Regions from separate parts of the Homo sapiens genome. Here all the other regions are linked to region 1. Evidence: promoter capture Hi-C in 16 types of primary human blood cells and fetal thymus (Javierre and others, 2016). All regions are on one chromosome and are shown on one strand. The core of a region is centred on a gene start or on the middle of the fragment in contact, and the rest is flanking DNA. Distances in the headings are between cores, read along the strand shown.

Region 1 (2,791 bases), core at 216-2,715:
TATTAGTATATCCATATAGTGCCTTTTGCAAGTAAATATGATTCTGGATATTTTATGACCTGTAATTACTTGAAATCGGAAAGCCCTTTTAGTTTCTCTTATTACCCATGTGTTGCTGAGACTAACTGAAGAACCAGTTAGGAGGTTTGTTCGTTCACGAAATAACATTTAAGAAATGGGTACCTGCTTATCACATAAAAGAATCCAGTTATTTACTTACCCTGTGAGGAGACATAATATGTTAGAATGCTTGTACACTGCAGATGGGAAGAGGTTTTTCCAGGAATTTAAATTGTGCAATAAGGCCACACAATCTTACTTAAAAAAAATGGTGAAGGGGTTTTAATTACACCATGAAGTTTTACAATTTTTTAGGTTTTTAGTTCTGGTTTTAGAAAACAGAGTAGAAGGATTACAGAGAAAAACTTCACCATTAGACAAGAAGTCAAAATGATTCTAAGGGCCGCGCAAACAGGCTTTTCCAAGAATTAATCATGAGGTGGTGCTTGGAGAATTCCTTTACTCCAGTGACTTTGAAACCCCCTTCTCACTCTCCACTAGTCTTTCAAAGGATTCATGGTGAATTGGGTCTAACGAGTATAACACGGCCGGCCGAAGGCATGAAGCTCACGCTACCCTTTCAGGGCGGAGAAGTTCCCAGGAGGAAGAATGGAGAAAAAGATCGCAGTTAGGCAGTCCTCCCAACCTCACCAAGGCTCCACCTCTCTCCAAAGCCGCAAGGCTCTGCCACCTGCGCCGGGAGAGGCTGCAATCACTGTCTCCTCCTCTTTCTTTCTCTTTTTTTTTTTTCTTTTTTGCCTGGGGTGCCCGACCAAGCGCAGCCCGCAGTCTGGGCACTGCCAACTGACTCCAACTCCTTTTATGGTGAGAGGATGGATTCTTCGTTATTTCCCCGCCCAATCTGGTACCCACCCACCCACCCACCTACCACGTCCGCTGGGCGCACCCAAGTCTAACCCCGGGGCGCACGCGCTAGCGCAGACACCGTATTTCTTCTCCTTTCTCGGCCAACCCTAGGTAGAATCCTAAAACAACTGCCCTCTCTTCCACGATCTAGATGTTGCGGCCCGCGGACAGGAGGTTCAAGAAATAGTACACTCCGAGCGGCAGGCAGCGAGGCGGAAACGGTCGCCGGTTTCAGTGGTGGCCCCACTGGAAGCCGAGTTCAGGAGCGGCTAAGCGGTCGCCGGGGAAAGCACCGGGGCTTCCCAGGGTCCCCTCCGAGTTCCCACTCCGCACCTCCGAGGGCGTGAAAACCACGGGAGCCGCCCCACCCCGCGCGCCCAGCCCCGCCCCAGCCCAGACACCGCCCCCCGCCAGTCTTCCCTGCGGCGCCCAGGGAGGACGCGCTCCGCCCCCTTCCAATCCGGCCAATGGGCGCCCGGGCAGCGCGCGGTTTGCCTCCGCCTCCGCCAGGGAAACTTGGAGGAGGAGAAAAGTTTGTACAGAGGGTGGAAAGGCGAGAGCGGAGCTCCAAGCCCGGCAGCCCGAGAGGAAGATGAACAGCCCCAGGCCAGAGCCTCTGGCAGAGTGGACCCCGAGCCGCCCCCAGGTAGCCAGGAGCGGCCTCAGCGGCAGCCGCAAACTCCAGTAGCCGCCCGTGCTGCCCGTGGCTGGGGCGGAGGGCAGCCAGAGCTGGGGACCAAGGCTCCGCGCCACCTGCGCGCACAGCCTCACACCTGAACGCTGTCCTCCCGCAGACGAGACCGGCGGGCACTGCAAAGCTGGGACTCGTCTTTGAAGGAAAAAAAATAGCGAGTAAGAAATCCAGCACCATTCTTCACTGACCCATCCCGCTGCACCTCTTGTTTCCCAAGTTTTTGAAAGCTGGCAACTCTGACCTCGGTGTCCAAAAATCGACAGCCACTGAGACCGGCTTTGAGAAGCCGAAGATTTGGCAGTTTCCAGACTGAGCAGGACAAGGTGAAAGCAGGTTGGAGGCGGGTCCAGGACATCTGAGGGCTGACCCTGGGGGCTCGTGAGGCTGCCACCGCTGCTGCCGCTACAGGTGAGATGGCGTTGGGCTGACGTTGGGGTCAACGGGTAGAGAACGCAGGGATGCGGCCCTCGCCGAAGAGAGCCAAGAAGGGAAGAGCGCGCTCTCCAAATTGCTTTTGTAACTTGTTTTCAGTGAGCATTTTATTGATTCAGAATCTATCGAGAATAGCACTAGCGAGCTACTTTTCCCTTGAGATGGGTCTTATTCATCTTGGCAATGGAGTGAGTTGGATTGTGGGGAGGAAGAGGAATGGGAAAATCAGTTTATAAATATTAATGTCAGCAAGAGTGTGCTGTTGGCAGGACGTATCGCGAGCCTGGAGATTTTGGTGGCCGCAGTTGGTAAGTGGCTACAATCCAGAAAGTAGGATCGAGTTGCTCCCCTTGTCTTATCAGTGTATCGTTTCTCGGGCGCGGGTCTAACACCTTACAAGTGGTAATTTCCGCTCACGGCAGCTTTGTCTCTCTTCTACCATCCCCAGACCCAGCCTTGCACTCCAAGGCTGCGCACCGCCAGCCACTATCATGTCCACTCCCGGGGTCAATTCGTCCGCCTCCTTGAGCCCCGACCGGCTGAACAGCCCAGTGACCATCCCGGCGGTGATGTTCATCTTCGGGGTGGTGGGCAACCTGGTGGCCATCGTGGTGCTGTGCAAGTCGCGCAAGGAGCAGAAGGAGACGACCTTCTACACGCTGGTATGTGGGCTGGCTGTCACCGACCTGTTGGGCACTTTGTTGGTGAGCCCGGTGACCATCGCCACGTACATGAAGG
Region 2 (2,791 bases), core at 164-2,663, 220 kb before region 1:
ATGGGTAGAGGCTGGAACAATTTGAAGCAGCTGGTTAGTAAATGCTCAGATTCTGGTGAGGGCTTGGAAGACAAGACCAGGGAAAGTTTTAAACACTTTAGAGAATGGTTAAGTGGTCATGATCAGAATGTTGATAGAAATGTGGTCAGCAGGAAACATTGTGATGAAGTTTTAGGAGAAACTGAGGAAAAAGATATTGGAAAGTCAAGTAAAGGCCATTCTTGTTATAAATTGTCAAAGCACTTAGCTGGACTCTGTCTGTGACTGAGGTCTTTGTGGAAGTCCAAACTTGAGAAAGATGTACTAGAATATCTGGCACAAAAAAAAATTAAGTAAGGTATAGAAGGCATTCATAGTTACCTTTGGCCATTTACACTGAGATACAAGAGCAAAGTAATAATTTAAAGACAGAATTAATAGTTAAAAAGGAAGCAGAGCAGAAAAATTTGGAAAACCATTTGACCACAAAAAGAATGAAAAAAATGTTTTCAGGAGAGAAACGGAGTGTAGCTGATGGACCACTTTCTAAGGAGATTAGCAGAGACAGAAGGCAGCCATGTGCTATTTGTCAAGACAATGGAAGAAATACCCCCAAAGATATTGCCCAGATATTTGAAGATGCCACTCCCATCACAGGCTTAGGAGAGCAGAATGGTGTCAAGGAACAGCCCCAGAGTACACAGATTCACTTGTCAGGGCCATTTTGGGACTCTGCTACCCACACCCCAGCACAGCAGTTCTGCAGCTGCCTTAGCCATGGCTCAAGAAGCCTCAGGTGCAGCTCATGCTGCAGCTCCAGAAGGTACAAGTTATAAATTTTGACAACATCCATGTGGTACTAATTCTGCAGGCTTGCAGAAAGCAAGAGCTATGGAAGATTGACAACTTCCACCCAAATTTCAAAAGATGTTGCTGAAAGCCTAGAGACCCAGGCAGAGCTACTGTAAAGATCCCTGGTATAATAAAGCAGAGGAGAAATGTGAAGTTGGAGCTGCCACCAAGAGTCCCTGTTAGAGTAATGCCTAAGGAACTCAGGACTACCACTGAGATCTCAGAATTATGGAACCACCAGCAGCATGAAACATCTACCAAAGGAAGCCTTAGGCAAAGGACTTTATTCTGCATAAGCAGTCACGTGGGCTGCACCAAGCAAAGCCCATAGGACTGCCTAAGGCCTTGGGGGCCCAAACCCCATCCCAGTGTGTCCAGAAGGTGACACATGGAGTCAAAAGAAATCATTCCTCAGCTTAAAGATTTAATGTCTGTCCTACTCAGTTTCTAACATGCTTGAGCTTGTTACTCATTTCTCTTTGCCTATTCCTCCCTGTTAAAATAGAAGTGTCTGTCTTATGCCTGAACCACTACTGTATGTTGGAAGTTAATAACTAGTCTTAATTAGCCGGGTGCAGTGGCAGGTGCTTGTAATCCCAGCTATTCGGGAGGCTGAGGCAGGAGAATCGCTTGAACTCGGAGGGCAGAGTTTGCAGTGAGCTGAGATCGCGCCACTGCACTCCAGCCTGGCGACAGTGAGATTCCGTCTCAAAAAAAAAAAAAAAAAAAAACTAGTCTTGATTTCACAGGCTCACAGATGGGATTCTGAACTTTGGACTTTTGAGTTGGGGCTAGTATTAGTTAAGACTTTGGGGTTAACTTTGGAAAGTTTGGAAGGGGTGATTGTTCCACTCAATGGAAGGACATAAGAAACAGGAAAAAGCAAGGAAATGTAACTCTACTAAAGGAAAACTTTTTAGTAACAAACCCCAATAAAAGGAAAATTAATGGAGAACCAGAAAAGGAATTCAAAATTATGATCTTAAGGAAACTGAATGAGGTATAAAAAATACAGTTAGACAATTCAACAAAATCAGGAAAAAACATATGCATGAGAAATTCAACAAAAAGACAGATATAAAAAAGAAAAAAAACAAATCATGCAACTAAAGAATTCAATGAATGAAATAAAAAAACAACACAGAGCTTCAACAGCAGATTTGATCAAACAGAAGAATCTCTGAACTTGAAGGCAGGTCATTTGAAATTATTTGGTTAGAAAAAATAAGAATGGAAAATAGCTCTTAAAAGATTGTAAACTTATGAGACACCATTAAGTAGACAAATATTCATTATAGACATTCCAGAATGAAAAAAAATGGAAAAAATGCATAGAAAACCTATTTAATAAAATAATAGCTGAAAATTTCCCAAATCTGGAGACAGATATAAACATCCAGATCCAGGAAGTCCAAAGATCCCAAACTATATTTCAATCAGAAAGGTACTGTCCAAGGTAAAAAATAGTCAAAATATCAAAAGTCAAAGACAAAAAGAATTCTAAAACAAGAGAAAAGCACCAAGTCACATATAAAGGAATATTCATTAGACTCACATTAGGTTTCTCTTCAGAAACCTTACAGGTCAGGAGAGAATAAAATGATATATTCAAAGTACTGAAAGAAGAAATTGACAGTCAAGAATACTATACTCAACAAAGCTATTTCTTAGACTGAGGGAGGAATAAAGCCATTCCCAGACAAGCAAAAGTATAAGGAAATCTATCACTAGACTGACTTTACAAAAAATGCTGAAAAGAGTCCTGCATCTGGAGACAAAAAGGTGATAATCACAATCATGAAAACATGCAAAAATATATAACTCATTGATAGGGCAGATAAACAAAGAAGAAATAAAAAAAAGTTCATACCATTCAAATAATCTATAGATTCAATGTAGTGCCTATCAAAATGCCAATAATATTCTTCACAGAAATAGAAAAAAAAATCCTAAAATTTGT
Region 3 (2,791 bases), core at 142-2,641, 200 kb before region 1:
CTTGCCTTATTACGCAAAGTATGTCTCCCTTAACTGCATATGCTTCAACTGAGAGTTTGTAAGAAACACAGAATCTCCAGCTCCTAAACCAGAATCTGTGTTTTAACAAGACATGCAGGTGATTTTCATGCCCATGAAGGCATGGGAAGCACCACTGAATTGTACCATTCTCTATTGTTTCACCTGTGTAAGTCCCATATCCTTGACTAGGCTTGCGTGTATTTGGAGAACTGGTACCATTTTCTATATTTGTTCTGCTCTTAAACACACACACCCAAGCTTAGAATATAGGTTAGTGCTGACCACACAGTAGATCACAAATTCAAGCTACTAGAGAAGAAACACCTCTATGAACTGGCCAAATTCAGTAACAGGAATATAAAGATAAATCAAATCCCAGCTCTGCTACTCAACAGATAGTGTGACTTTGGGCAAGTCATTTAATTACTCTACATTTCCAATTCTTTATCTGAATTTAAAGGGGACTATCATGGAAGCTCCAATTTTCATTTTATTTCTGAATATCTACTAATCCACAATAACATTAGAATCAATATAGTTTGATATTGCTTAATAAATAAGAAAACATTCTGGAACCTTTTAGTGCCTAAATGTCATCAACATGAACATCAGTAATAACTGCATTGTAGATGTGAGAAAATGTTGCTTAGTCCAGGATTGTTTAGCAAAAAAACATAGAATTCTATATCCTGCATTTGATTTCCCTTATAATTTAGGCCATGTTGAATGTAAGTAAATTGTTAAAGAAGTTTAAAACAAATTTTTGCTGGATAACAACAAGAGTATGGCTAGAACAGGTGAAATCTCCCCTTTGCCACACTTTGGGAGTCACCCCTATGCTCCTCAGCTCTGCCTTGGAAAAGGAGCTTCTGGCTCTGTAAGAGTCAGATTAGAAACAAAGACTTTGCCTTCAAAAGAAAACTATGAATTTCCACCTGAGGTTCACCACCTTCTCCTGTAAAAGGAGGAGCTGGATTTGTTATACAGAGCAGCAGAACTAGGCTGAGTGAATAAAGAAATGGACATATACACAGGTGGTGCTTTTTGTTGTTGTTTTTAAGGTACTCAGTTTAATTTCTTCTTCTGCCTGTAAGGTCCAATCCCACCCACAGAGTTTAAATTGGCACTTCCCCTGAGGACCTGGACTCCAATTACATCTTATATTTTGATCTCTAAATCTCTTCAAGTTCAAGGACTTCACCTCCTCTCCAGGAATAAAGGGCTGTACTTCCCAGTCACCTCCCTCCCCGTCATGTTGTCCTTGCTTCAGCCTTCAGTCCTCTCTTCTGCAGCAAAGAATCCTAATTCCCTACCAGAATTCTTAAACATCAGTTTACTTTACACATTTCTTTTTTGGCTTCTTTACTGTTAGAACAAGCCCTGAGTGTGTAAAACTGTTCTCACTGTGATGACAAGGCTGTACTGAACAATTGGGGGCAAGAGAGCTGTGGTTCCAGCTGAGGGGGCTAAGTTATGGGACCATGCATGCCTCCACACTTATTTCTCTAAAATTCATCATAGCTCTGAACTTCATGCAGAACTCCTAGAAAAAAAAACACAGTCCAGCTACCTACTTTTAAATTTATGGACGAATGATGGTGGTGATGATGATGATAACAATAATAACACTAGTGCTGTTAGCCGCCTCTGAACAGAAGCATATTTTTGGTTTCTGTCCTCAGGCTCCAAAGTGGTTCACATGATGCAAACTGGCCGTGTAGTCAGCGTTTTGGCATTTTCATTTGATTTCTCTGCCCACTCTCCCCTGTTGGCACTGGCTGCACTTTGAAATGAATTTCTGTTCCTGTGCAAACAGGACCGCAAGAACAGTTACCAGACTTTGAGATCACTCAGGGCATGCAGGTTTCCAGAGATCATTATCCTAGAAGCACAATTCAAGAATAAATATGGGAGCTCAAAATCCACCTAAAGAAGAGAGAACTCTTGTACCCCTCTGGCAGATAATTTCTGCCCACAGCCAAATAATACTTTGGTAAAGTCATCCTGAAACTATTTCTTCTATCCGGCCAAACTCGGGCACTTGGACAGAAGCACCAGAGACATCACAGAGAAAAGAGATGCAATGGGAATAACACAGGACCAAGGACAGGGACCCGGGTTCTGGTCCCAGTTCCACCACTAACTTTAACACTGAGTGAGCCACTTCTCCCAAGTGCTTAGCTTTCTCTGTGAAAGATAATAGTTAGATACTACAGTTTCCAACTTGAACTTACCTAATCATCAGTATCTTGTAGGACATTTATTTTAAATACAGATTTTCAGACTGCTCCCTGCAGATGCTGGTTCAGTATGTTTAGCAGTTACTGAATACTAAGTTTAGTTAGTATTCAGGAGTTTGCATTTTAACAAGTGACCCAGGAAAGTCTTCACATAAGCAAGTTTAGGAAACACGGGCCACATGACATCAGAAAGCTCTTCCGGGTCTGCAGTTCTGCAGAATCAAGTTAATTAATGGCCACGATTAAGCTTCTACTCCCTACAAAGCTCTGCTAGATCCTAAAAATGATAGGAATGATAGCTAACATTTATGTAGTACTAGTCACTATTTTAAAGGCTTTGCATATATGAACTATTTTAATCTTCACAACAACCTTCTGAACCAGATACTATTATTATCCCTATTATAAGACACAGAAACAGATGCACAGAGATTAAGTGATTTTTCAAAGATGACTTGGCCACTAAGGAGGTAGGATTGGGATTCAAGCCAAGGCACCCCAGTTATAGAGCCTAGCCTCTCGACTGCTCT
Region 4 (2,791 bases), core at 134-2,633, 150 kb before region 1:
AAGGAGATTACATCATTTGCAACACCATGGGTGAAACTGGAGGTCATTATGCTAAATGGAATAAACCAAGCACAGAAAAACAAACTTTGCATATTCTCTTTCATTTGCAAGAGCTAAAAATGAAAATGATTGAACTAATGGAGATAAAGAATAGAATGATGGTTACCAGAGGCTGGGAAAGGTAGTTGGGAAAGGGGGAGGGATGTGAGGATAATTAATGGGTACAAAAATATAGTTAGATACATATATAAGATCAAAAGATCTTATTCACTTGATAGCACAACAAGGTGATTACAGTCAATGAAAATAAATAGTACATTTTAGAATAAGTTAAAGAGTGTAATTGGATTGCTTGTAACACAAAGAAATGATAAATGCTTGAGGTAATGGATACCCCATTTACCCTGATGCAATTATCTCATATACTCCACAAACATACACACCTATTATGTATTCATAAAAATAAAAAAAGTTAAAATGCAATATTTGAAATAAAAAGAACTTAACAGTGAAGTGTGCTTTAGACTTTTTAAATTTCTTCACACTGAATGCATATAAATGACAAGATGTACTTCAGAAAATTGTAGTTGGAAATATATTTAGAAAAGTATGAGCTTAAGGGTCATTATTTACTACATCTTAAAAAGTAGAGAGAGTCATACTGTATGATTCTAATTATATAACATTCTGAAAAGTAAACAGTAAAAAGATAACTGGCCTCCAGGAGCTCGGGGAGAGAAGGTGATGCACGTAGGCATTTTTAGTCTAGTGAAGCTCTTTTAGCGCAGTGAGACTTTTTGAAAATTGACTAGAGTTGGAGCAATCAGTGTAATCTCATGTTTAGCTTAATATACATGCCTACGCTTACATATAGAAATACTTATGAATATAAGCATATACATGGGTTAGTATGCACATGTATATTTCCTTGCTCTGTCAGCTGAGAATACCTAAAAGCAATAATGCCCTAGTAATGATGAGTACGCTTAGCACTTGAATTTTGGTTTCTACCCCTACTTTCTGATAAAAGAAACCAGGGCTCCTTGGAAAAAATGACTGATTCTAGGAGAAGGGCAAGAAATATACATGATAAGCCTGGAACATCTTATAGTGCCAGAAGTAAGAAAGTGCTAAAAAAAGAAAAAAAAAACGAAAAAAGCTTCACTTTGATTAGTATATGTCAAAGGGACATAGGAGCCACAGAAAGAGCTCCCAATGGCCAATGCTGGAACAATTTAAGCAACAAATAAAGTAGAATTCAATTACAACACAAAGTATAAAATAAATATTCATGAGTTCATACTGATATAAATAAATGATTGCATAAATACATATATGAGGGAGAAGAGGCAAATCTGCCATGAAGAATTCCAAATAATTTATGTAGATAATCTACCAGCAAGGAGTGGGGGCATAACTCCTCACTCCCTAAGTGTGGGCCACACATAGTGACTTCCTTACCAAAAGCACAGCAAGAAAGAGGCCAGAGGAGAATAACTTTAGAGTGGAGAGGCCTAACAAACATTACCTTGACCAGGTGATCACAATCAACATCAACAGTGCAGTATGAACCTTTGACGTATGAAAACAACATCATTTTATCTTTGTAAGCTTCCTCTCCAAAACCTCAATCTAATCATGAAAAAACAGACAAATTTAACAGTGGGCATTCCACAAAATACCTGACCAGTACTCCTGAAAATGTCCAGGTGGTCAGAGAACAAAAAAAGTCTGAGACCGTGACAACTGAGAGAAGCTTAAGAAGGCATGCCAACTAAATGTAATGTGATAACTAGATGAGATGTTGGAACAGAAGGACATCAGGTAAAATCCAAGGAAATTTGACTGAACTATGGACTTTAGTTAATAATAGTGAATCAATTAATACTGTCTATTAATTGTAATAAATGTACCATACTAATATAAGATGATAATCATAGGGGAAACTGGTGTGGGGTATGTAGGTATTCTCTATATTATCACCTCAATTTTTTTGTAAGTCTAAAATTACTCTAAAAAATAAATCTATTTTTTCAAAAGTAGAGGATTTTATAAAATCATTTCAGACAAAGTTAATTTGAATGTATTAGTCAAATCATGATGTAATAAATTAAGCCATCTTTTCAAGAAAGAATACCTATTTATAATACAATAATAACAATCAATGGTGACATTTTCTATTAAGCGTTTCAAAATTATTGCCTTATTTGATACTCATCACACCTCTAAAAGAATGCGAAGAGATAAAAAAGCACTCCAGGTTTGTATTTATTGGAAAACATAAGAGATTATAAAATGCATAAAATGTCTTTATAATCAAAATACACCTGAAATTAATAAAGCAAAAACCATAGAAAATACACCACATGATTGAGCGGGTATTTTGCTTAATAACTGTGAAGCATCTCAGATGAATTTCTCCCTTGGAAAGATTGCTTACTCTATTCAGTAAAATGTGCTTCTTAGTAAAATAGAGCATTGTCATTATCTGGCATCTCCCGTGCCTATGAATTTCACATGGAAATACACTGGGTCCTACTTCTTAAGTAACCTTGACAGTAGCTTCCCAAATCTGAAAATAGAAATTCAAACAAGTTTTATGAAGTTGAATATTTGTGCCTTATGCACTGAGCTGTGTGTTATGTACAATTTTAAAGTTAAGATGTTAAATAGAAATTCAAATAAGTGCTAGTGAGTTCTATATCTGCCAGTTAGTGTTTACACATCTGGAAGGCGTAATACTAAAAAAAAAAAAAAATCCAAAATTTCAACAACCTCTTGATAGCTTAAG

The links. Contacts are between HindIII fragments. The CHiCAGO score rates a contact against its expected background, and 5 or more counts as called.
Region 2: a contact is called between a fragment that was not itself captured here and the fragment with the promoter of PTGER4 in region 1, in 1 of 17 cell types (fetal thymus). The highest score is 5.2, in fetal thymus.
Region 3: a contact is called between a fragment that was not itself captured here and the fragment with the promoter of PTGER4 in region 1, in 3 of 17 cell types (activated CD4 T cells, total CD8 T cells and naive CD8 T cells). The highest score is 7.4, in activated CD4 T cells.
Region 4: a fragment that was not itself captured here is called in contact with the fragment with the promoter of PTGER4 in region 1 in 2 of 17 cell types (naive CD4 T cells and activated CD4 T cells); the score reaches 5.3 in naive CD4 T cells.

Annotation. Positions count from the first base shown.
Region 1 is chr5:40,678,450-40,681,240 of GRCh38, forward strand. PTGER4 (prostaglandin E receptor 4) reads left to right here and starts at 1,466. Exons shown (of 3, transcript NM_000958.3): 1 at 1,466-2,029; 2 at 2,502-2,791. The coding sequence starts at 2,545. RefSeq lists a silencer at 1,129-1,348 and an enhancer at 2,484-2,791. The HindIII fragment of the contact is 6,362 bases long and covers 1-2,791 here.
Region 2 is chr5:40,458,861-40,461,651 of GRCh38, forward strand. No RefSeq gene overlaps it. Among named protein-coding and RNA genes, the nearest start is that of PTGER4, 220 kb to the right of the region's middle. The HindIII fragment of the contact is 9,349 bases long and covers 1-2,791 here.
Region 3 is chr5:40,476,268-40,479,058 of GRCh38, forward strand. No RefSeq gene overlaps it. Among named protein-coding and RNA genes, the nearest start is that of PTGER4, 200 kb to the right of the region's middle. The HindIII fragment of the contact is 2,229 bases long and covers 278-2,506 here.
Region 4 is chr5:40,524,849-40,527,639 of GRCh38, forward strand. No RefSeq gene overlaps it. Among named protein-coding and RNA genes, the nearest start is that of PTGER4, 150 kb to the right of the region's middle. The HindIII fragment of the contact is 452 bases long and covers 1,158-1,609 here.